Regions from separate parts of the Homo sapiens genome. Here region 1 is linked to region 2. The links are contacts of gene promoters, found by promoter capture Hi-C in human tissues and cell types (Jung and others, 2019). All regions are on one chromosome and are shown on one strand. Each heading gives the region's core, a stretch centred on a gene start or on the middle of the fragment in contact. The rest is flanking DNA. Distances are from core to core; before and after follow the strand shown. Region 1 overlaps DAW1 (dynein assembly factor with WD repeats 1). Region 2 holds the start of AGFG1 (ArfGAP with FG repeats 1).

Region 1 (4,440 bases), core at 1,219-3,718, 420 kb after region 2:
AAGTTGTTGAAAACGTTTCAAAGGGGCATTTTTACCCTTTTAATTGTTATGAAATTAATTATCTTTTTGACAATGAAATATCTCAGGGTTTATCCAAGTTATTATTATGGATGGTTCCTGGTTCATTTTTGTTCAAAATATTCACTCCTAATCTAATAGATTATGTTTCTTGAGAGCTGGGACCATATCTTTTACACACCCAGTGCTAAAGCAATAGTACCAACTCAATAAATGTCAATTGAATGAGCAGGTTCCTAGCTCGGTGCCTTGCACAAAACTGGAGCTTAATGTTTGTTGATGAGGTGAAGAGGGGGATACTTATCAGGGGCCACATTCATGGGAATTGGATACTGAGACAGAAGTGGGTGAGTCAAAGGTTTATTGGGCAGTGACACTTGTGACAGTCCAGGGCATGAAGCAGAAGCAGGATCAGGCGGGAGGAGCCATCTGACCTCGATGAAGAAGGCGGGACAACAGAATCTCTGCCAATCTGGAAGAGCTCAGGAGCAAAACTTGCCAGCTAGAGGAGTGCCTCACAGGGAGAAACGGCCAGGCTCTTGCTCTGCCCCTGCTCAGCTGTGGACGGAGAGCCACCAGAGAAGAGGCAGCCCTGGCCTGGAATGCCAAGGTACAGCCTGAAAGAGCTGCAGCTAGAAGCTGTCAGGCAACAAAGCTCCAACCCTGACTCTGGGCTTGATTCTTTCTTAAAGGTGGGGGAATCTGCATAGTGCATCTTCTGGACACGTGTGTGACATGATTTGTGAAATGGCTCTTTTTTGGATGCTTCATGGTGTATATACATTGATACCTTTTTTTGAACGAATATTATTCTGTGCCAGCAACATTTTTCAGAATTTCTATGAATTATTTGAATGCTAGAGAAAATTTGAATCTATCTGTATATTTTTCAGACCAGTTATCTTTCAGGGAAACAATATTTTAGTCTATAATAAATATTAATATTAGTCTTATGATGCTTTAAATTTATGGTTAGGCATTTTTCTCTTTTCCTAAAAATATTTTAAATCTAATCTTTCTGAACCTCAGTTTCTTCATCTCTAAAATAATTATGATAAAAGCATTACATTAGCAGATTGTTACAGGATTAAATAAGAGAACATATGTAAAGTGAAAAGTATGCTGCTGGGAACATTCAATACATGTTCATTCAAAAGAAACAGGAAAGAAAGAAAAAGAGCTCATGTTCAGAACTAGTATGGACTAGGCCTTCCTAGGTGTCTTCATTCATTTTGTGCTGCCATAAAAAGAAAGACCTGAAACAGGGTTATTTGTTTCTCGTAGTTCTGACTGAGAAATCCAAGATCAAGGCCCCTACAAGTTTGGCATCTGATGAGGGCTGCACTCTGCTTCCAGGATGGCACCTTGATGCTGCGTCTTCACATGGCAGAGGGCAGAAGGGCAAAAGGGATGAACTCTCTTTGTCAAGCCTTGTTATCAGGGCTTCTAATCCCATTCAGAAGGGCTCCACCATTGTGACTTAATTACCTATTCAGGCCGCACCTCTTAATGCTGTGACATTGGTGAACATGTTTCAGCATGAATTTTAGAGCGGACGCAAACATTCAAACCACAACACTAGGTGAGAACATTAGACTCTTGGCACACCCTCCATGAAACAAGCCTTAGCTTTGGAAAAATATGTTGTAGAAAATCCAAGCTTCTTGCTTTCCTGCCATCATCTATTTACTGATTTGTATGATCCTCCCCGCCCCACCCCCAGATATCTCTTGGGAAAGATAATGGTGTTTTTGACATTTTATAAATGTGCTTCATGAAGCAATACAATCAATTCTTCATGTAATATAGGTATATGCAAATTTTGACATAAAATAAAAGAAACTCTTTTTTGGGTGTATTTCAGCACTGATGTCAGTGCGTTAGTAGAAGAAATCCAGAAGGCAGAACCTCTACTCACAGCTTCACGAACAGAGCAAGTCAAACTTTTGATACAGAGGTTGCAAGAGAAACTCGGCCAGAACAGCAATCACACGTTCTATCTTTTTAAGGTAATGGATTTAAAAACAATCAGATAGAAGAATTTCAGTGAAATGATTGATATTTTATTAATTTTTCTTTCCCTAAAAATATTTTTTCATGAAAAAGGCATGTCAGTGATTGATTGTAGTGCCTCACATATGTTTGCTAAGATTGTCCCAATAATTATTTGTTAAATGAATGAGTGAAATCCAAAACACTTATTCCTTGAGAGGTTAAATAAAGATTTCAGCTCTTCATATAATGATAAATTTAAAGGGTTATTATTATTAAGATAGTTTTAAGTTATGGAATAACTAAAGCTTTTTTTCTAGTTAAAGTAACGTTAAGAAGTTGTGTTTTATGACAAATCAACATTTCGTATTTTCTGCTTTCATGTGAACTAAACCATATTTCAGTAAATTATTTATTTGTATGACATATAATTTTAATGTGATGTAAATATGCTTTTTAAATAGTTTTTTTGATGATTAAATATAGCAAATATAGTCGTTTAGTACTTCAAGGAAAGCTTTTAATTTTCCTTTGTCATTACCTTAGAATTACTTCATATTACACTGCTTTTATCTTTTATGATTTAAATATAATTATGATAGTAACATATAATTATTAGTTATAGACTCACCTGATACAAAATATCCAGGCATTCGTTTCTGGAAGAGGATGTTATAGTCTTGTAACATTTCTTTGTCCAGTAGGTGGCACTGTTTAATTTCAAATATGAGCTGTATAACTAGCGTGTCTCAATTTATTCTCCAAAGGGAACATTTTTGATGGTGAAAGTAGATGCTATTCATAGTTACATTTTGGTAACAGACATAACTTGGACTGTCCCAGCCCAGCCAATCACTCTTAATAGATTGTCCAATTTATGTATATGCATTCAATAAATATTCATTAAACATTCACTGTATGTTAGATGTTGTAGGGATTGAAAGATAAGGAAGACATATTCTGACACTAAAGGAGCTTCAGGATTCATAAAGTCATAATACATTGTCAAATCTTTATTGAAACATATTTAGTGTATTTCCTACATACCCAGTTTATACATGTATACAAAACCACATGCCATATGTAAAAGAAAATGTTACAAATTAGTGCTATCAATAAGATGCCACATAGCACTGTCTAAAGGTAAATCAGATATTGCCTGTTTCTGATGTATAATTAAGAAAAAATTGAATGTCTTCATTGGTTTGAAGTTATAACTAACAAATTTAATTTGGTTTGAGTCTAAAAAATGGTGTTTTCTTTCACTGAAGGTTCTCAAAGCACATATATTGCCACTGACTAATGTTGCACTTAACAAATCGGGCTCATGGTAAGATTCTCTTTTTATGTCTAATTTTTAGCAGTGAAACAAATTTCTGTGTTTATTTATCAAAGATTCCAGTTAGATAAGTACATAATATATTCATTTTTCTGATTTCAGTACTCCCTTGGATACTGAGGAGAAATATAAACCCTTTCTCCCACTCTTCTAATCTGAGTTTTCTGTCGTATTTGTGCTGCAGTGAATGGGAGGCATATTGGGTTCTCAGCAAATGTAGCTACTGAAGAACTCAACTCAGGAATGAGTCGGGCAGGGTGGCCTCATATCTAACTTGGTTGGTTGTGATCAGTCTATTCAGAGCAGGCACTTTCCATCTAGGTCAGTGATTTGGGGTATGGCAAACAGCAGCTTCAAGTCTCTGTTGAGAGCATGGCTGTGATCAGCTTGGGAGCTGACGTGCTAGGTAGGAGAGATGAGGGAGAAGTCTCGTCTTGACCTACAGACATAAAATAAACACAAACTAGACATAAAATAAGCAGTTTGCTAAGGCTTCCATAATAAGGTAGCACAAACTGAGTGGCTTACACAACCAAAATGTATTGTGTCACAGTTGGGGAGGTTAGAGGTCAGAGGTCAAGGTGTCATCAGGGTCAGTTCCTTCTGAGGCCTTGGGAAAGAAGCTGTTCCACAGCTCCTGTAGCTTCTGGTGGTTTGCTGGCAATCTTTGGTGTGGAGAAGCATCACCCTGAGCTCTGCCCTCATCTTCACATGGTTTTCCCTGTGCATGTCTGTGCCTATATGGCCTGTTCTTATAAGGATGTATTGAACTAGGGCCCACCCTACTGCGGCATGATCTCATCCTAACTTAATAATTTTTTTTTTTTGAGATGGAGTTTCACTCTTGTTGCTCAGGCTGGAGTGCAATGGCACGATCTTGGCTCACTGCAACCTCCAGCTCTAGGGTTCAAGCAATTCTCCTGCCTCAGCCTCCTGAGTAGCTGGGATTACAGGTGCCTGCCACCACGCCCAGCTAATTTTTTGTATTTTTAGCAGAGACGGGGTTTCTCCATGTTGGTCAGGCTGGTCTCGAACACCTGACCTCAGGTGATCTGCCCAACTTGGCCTCCCAAAGTGCTGAGATTACAGGC
Region 2 (4,121 bases), core at 472-2,971:
CCTGACCTCAGGTAATCCACCTGCCTTGGCCTCCCACAGTGCTGGGATTACAGGTGTGCGCCATCGTGCCCAGCCTATTGTTAACTTTTTAGATATGCTAACGGTATCATGGCTAAGTTTGAAAGAGATAAAGTTTTTATTTTTTAGGGATACAAATGGAACTATGTACCATTTAGATGAATGGTACGAAACCTAGAATTTGCTTTAAAATAATAGGAGAGGGGATGGAGGGTTGAGGTATTTATAAAGCAAGATTAGCCATGGGCTTAATCATTGCTGAAAGTGGTCCATGGGCTCATGGTAGTTTGATATTTTCCATAATAGAAAAGTTTAAAAACATTCATTGGCCAATCTATCTGTCCATTTCTTTTAATATTAAAAACATTAATTATTATTAGTAGTATTATATTAATATGAAGTCTCACTTTGTTGATTCACCCAATCCCTTTCATGAGAGATGTGGAGGTTGGTCTTGGCTGTTAGGAAACGTAGATTCTAATCCATTCAACAGCCCAGTGATTTGAGAACTTCAGCTCTCTGGGTCTCCCTGTACTCCTTTGGAAAACGAGAGACGAAGTTGATTGTTGCAGTGGGGATTTGGGTCCTGCAGTCTGGCTGTCTGGGTTGGAATTGAGCTTCGCCATAGGTACCCTTGGGTAAATTTACTTAATCCCTCAGGGTTTCATCTTCCTGTTTTGTAAAATGTAAATAACAATAACGCTCACCTCGAAGGGTTGTTGTGAAGATTACATGAACGATTTCATGTATTCATTCCGTCAACATTGAACACCTAGTCTCCAGCTCTGCGAGGGGAATGGGGTGGAGTGGCACAGAAAATACGGGGGCCAGGCTGTTTAGCGCCTAAAGGGAGAGTCCAGATCACCCATGGTAAACACGAAATAAGATGCAGTATTTCAAATAGCTAGAACTGAGACGAAAATACAACGCAGCAATTTGATGGAGAGCAACTTCGAGAAAGGTGAGCTGCAACATTAACTCGGCTGATCTGGGACAGTCTGGCGGGGGAGGTGACATCTGAGCCCCACCTGACTTAGAGGATGTCAGCTATGGATGATCCGGGTTTCCACACGCAGCAGTTCTCAAGCCAGGTGACTGCACCGCCCTAAAGTTCCCTCCACTTTTGGCAATGTCTGGGGATTTTTGGTTGCCAGCAATGGGAATTGGGGGGTTTGTTCTTGTATCTAGTGGGTATAGGCTAGGAACGCCGCCCAGTATCCTACAGTGCACAGGACACCCCAAGCCCCCCCAAATTAGCTGGCCCAAAGATAAAGAGAGAAGAGCAAGGGCAAAGGTCCTGCAGGAGTCAGAAAGGAGCTTGCTGTGTTCAGAAAACTCAAAATCCAGTGTGGCTGAGTGAGGACGACGAAGAATGAGGTAGACTGGGCTAGACTATGGAGCACTTTTTACGGCACGGTGAGGAATTTGGAATTATACTCAAAGCAGTGGAAAGCCCTTGAAGAGTTTTAAACAGAAGGGGAAGGTAACCCATGTGAAACGCTTTGCATATATAAGCGCTCAATAAATACTGTCTATTATTAATATTATTATCACCATTGTGTCTACCCTACTTGGCTCCAGACCCGGCCCATGCCTCAGCGAGGCCGCAGTGACTCCTCCTGGCCAGCAGAGGGCGCCAGCGGACACTTGGCTACCGGCCGCCCAGGGCGGGCCTCCTCTTGCCGTCCCCTTCCTCGTCTTTTCCCCTCAGGAGAAGTCGGGAAGGTGGCGGCGGCGGCGGCGGTTGTCCCGGCTGTGCCGGTTGGTGTGGCCCGTCAGCCCGCGTACCACAGCGCCCGGGCCGCGTCGAGCCCAGTACAGCCAAGCCGCTGCGGCCGGGTCCGGCGCGGGCGGCGCGCGCAGACGGAGGGCGGCGGCCGCGGCCAGGGCGGCCCGTGGGACCGCGGGCCCCCGGCGCAGCGCTGCCCGGCTCCCGGCCCTGCCGGCCTCCTCCCTTGGCGCCGCGGCCATGGCGGCCAGCGCGAAGCGGAAGCAGGAGGAGAAGCACCTGAAGATGCTGCGGGACATGACCGGCCTCCCGCACAACCGAAAGTGCTTCGACTGCGACCAGCGCGGCCCCACCTACGTTAACATGACGGTCGGCTCCTTCGTGTGTACCTCCTGCTCCGGCAGCCTGTGAGTGCGGGGCGGCCGGGCGGGTGTCGGGCCCTTCCCGGGAGGTGGGGGAGCGGGCGGCGGGACCGGGACCCTTCCGGGGCTGGGAAAGAGCCGGGTGCCGTGGGAGGCGGTCGGGGGCGGCCGTTGGGCGCCGGCTGGCGGGCGCGGCGTGGGAGGCTGCGGGCTGGATGCGCAGGGCCCGGGCAGCCGGGCTGGGGATGCGTTTTCGGTTTTGCCGGGCGAGGGTTTACGTTCTGGGCAGCCTTCGTGGGTGGGACGTGGGCGGGGTTGGGGTCAGGGAGGGGGCGACCGGGGCGAGCGTCCCTGGTCTCCGTCGAGCCTGCGGCCGCCGCCCTCGCTCTCCAGCTACCCGGGGCGCCGGGCTGTGGGGGGTGGGGGAAGACGCTAGGAGGCCGGGGGGGAGGTCCATGCGGGTCCTTTGTGTGCCCCGCCTCTCAGCGGCCCGGGAGCCGCGGTGCGGAGCGAGGCACCTGCTGGGCGCTCCTGCTGGGGGTCGGGGAGAAGCTGGGGTGGGAGGGAGGGACGCCTGCCTCGCCCGTGCCTTTTTTCTGGGTCGAGAGTACCTACGTAACTGGGAGGAAGCAGGCACTTAGGAATAGTAGCAGGATGAAAGCATCTTGATGGCAGATGTGAATCCCCTGGGAAAAGTTCGAAAGGATTAATTGCGGGAGGGGGAGGCAGAGGAGCAGATTTGAAGCTGTGGGATTTTAGTTTTATGGTCCGAAGAGAGTGTTGAGGAGTTGGGGGAAAGTTTTAATGGCAATAAGGTACCCACTAGGAGCTGTGTGATTCTAAATATGATGGAGTTATCTGTGAGATTTATCTGTATCTCGCTATCAATACCCGAGTGCCCTGGCTGTACACAGAAATGAGGAGAGCTAGCAAGTCACCATGATTTCAGAAAGACACTACCGTCCTGAGTTACTGGGATGATTTGTGTTTGTTGTTCTTTGCTTCATTAAGCTTTATTTTGATAAAGATTTTTATTGCCGTGCAATTTCATTCGGAAAATTTGCAGGTGGTTTTGGAATTGATAAAATGCTTTTATATTATTATCTTGTATTTAAAGTTACTAACAACGTGGCAGTTACTAAGTATTTTTAAAACCTTTGCTTGTAAGATTAATACAAAGCACATAATACTTTATGTGGGAAAATTGATTTCTTAAAACTTAGAAAATGCAGAACATGTCTAGTATGTACTATTTGCTTTTTAAAGTTGGGCAAAGAGGCATTATTAGTATTACATGAGTGTTATTTCTTCAGCAGACATTTTTTTTGGTGCCTATTAGGTTGTGTAAGGCCCTGGGGTGTGCCAGTAAATATAGCAAAGTCTTGTTCTCTTGGTTCTTACAGTCCAGTGGGGATGCAAAAGTAAGAAAAATGTCTTGGGCAAGTACTATGCTGAACATGAAAATTGTTTGATAGGAGAGTGCTCATGGTTACTTTTAGGCTGTGTGGCCAGGGAGACACTCTGAGAAGTTGCCAGTTAATAATATTCTCGAATTACTACAGAATCACAGAGCTAGGTGATATCAAGGAGGTAGCCTGGTTCATGCATTTCATTTACAGAAAAAGGAGTTAAGCTAGAAAGTTGTTACTTACGTTGGACAATATTGGTTCCAAAATGAAGCCAATAGAACAATTGTAATTGTATTTGATTTTTATTACATGGTTAAGATGTATGTCCTGCTTTTACTAAACACAGGTCCTTTAATCCATGTAAAGTATTTGATTTGGAAAAAATACATATATTTACACTTCCGGATTTCTGACATTTCTGTGTAGTCCCTGTAAGTACAGCAGCAAATGTGTAATATCAAGGACATATTTTCAAATTTCTTCCTAGATACCACATTTCAGAAACATTGTGCATAAAAGGATATCTCAGTATAATGACAATTATTTATCTTAATGGAACTTAATCTGTGGCAGATAGGACTTCATTTCTCTATTGAGTCATTC

What was found. The method cuts DNA at HindIII sites, captures the fragments that hold promoters and counts their contacts. A contact is called where the count stands out against the background at its distance.
Region 1: a contact is called between a fragment that was not itself captured here and the fragment with the promoter of AGFG1 in region 2, in 1 of the 25 tissues and cell types used here (ovary).

Annotation. Positions count from the first base shown.
Region 1 is chr2:227,887,974-227,892,413 of GRCh38, forward strand. DAW1 (dynein assembly factor with WD repeats 1) reads left to right here. Exons shown (of 13, transcript NM_178821.3): 3 at 1,883-2,027; 4 at 3,282-3,340. Among named protein-coding and RNA genes, the nearest start is that of DAW1, 19 kb to the left of the region's middle. The HindIII fragment of the contact is 3,680 bases long and covers 629-4,308 here.
Region 2 is chr2:227,470,435-227,474,555 of GRCh38, forward strand. It overlaps AGFG1 (ArfGAP with FG repeats 1), which reads left to right and starts at 1,722. Exons shown (of 13, transcript NM_004504.5): 1 at 1,722-2,154. The coding sequence starts at 1,988. It overlaps MIR5703 (microRNA 5703), which reads left to right and starts at 1,698; the gene lies at 1,698-1,753. LOC124907994 (a long non-coding RNA gene) reads right to left here and starts at 1,665. Exons shown (of 2, transcript XR_007088114.1): 1 at 726-1,665; 2 at 354-555. RefSeq lists an enhancer at 635-1,598 and a silencer at 1,711-2,430. The HindIII fragment of the contact is 8,030 bases long and covers 1-4,121 here.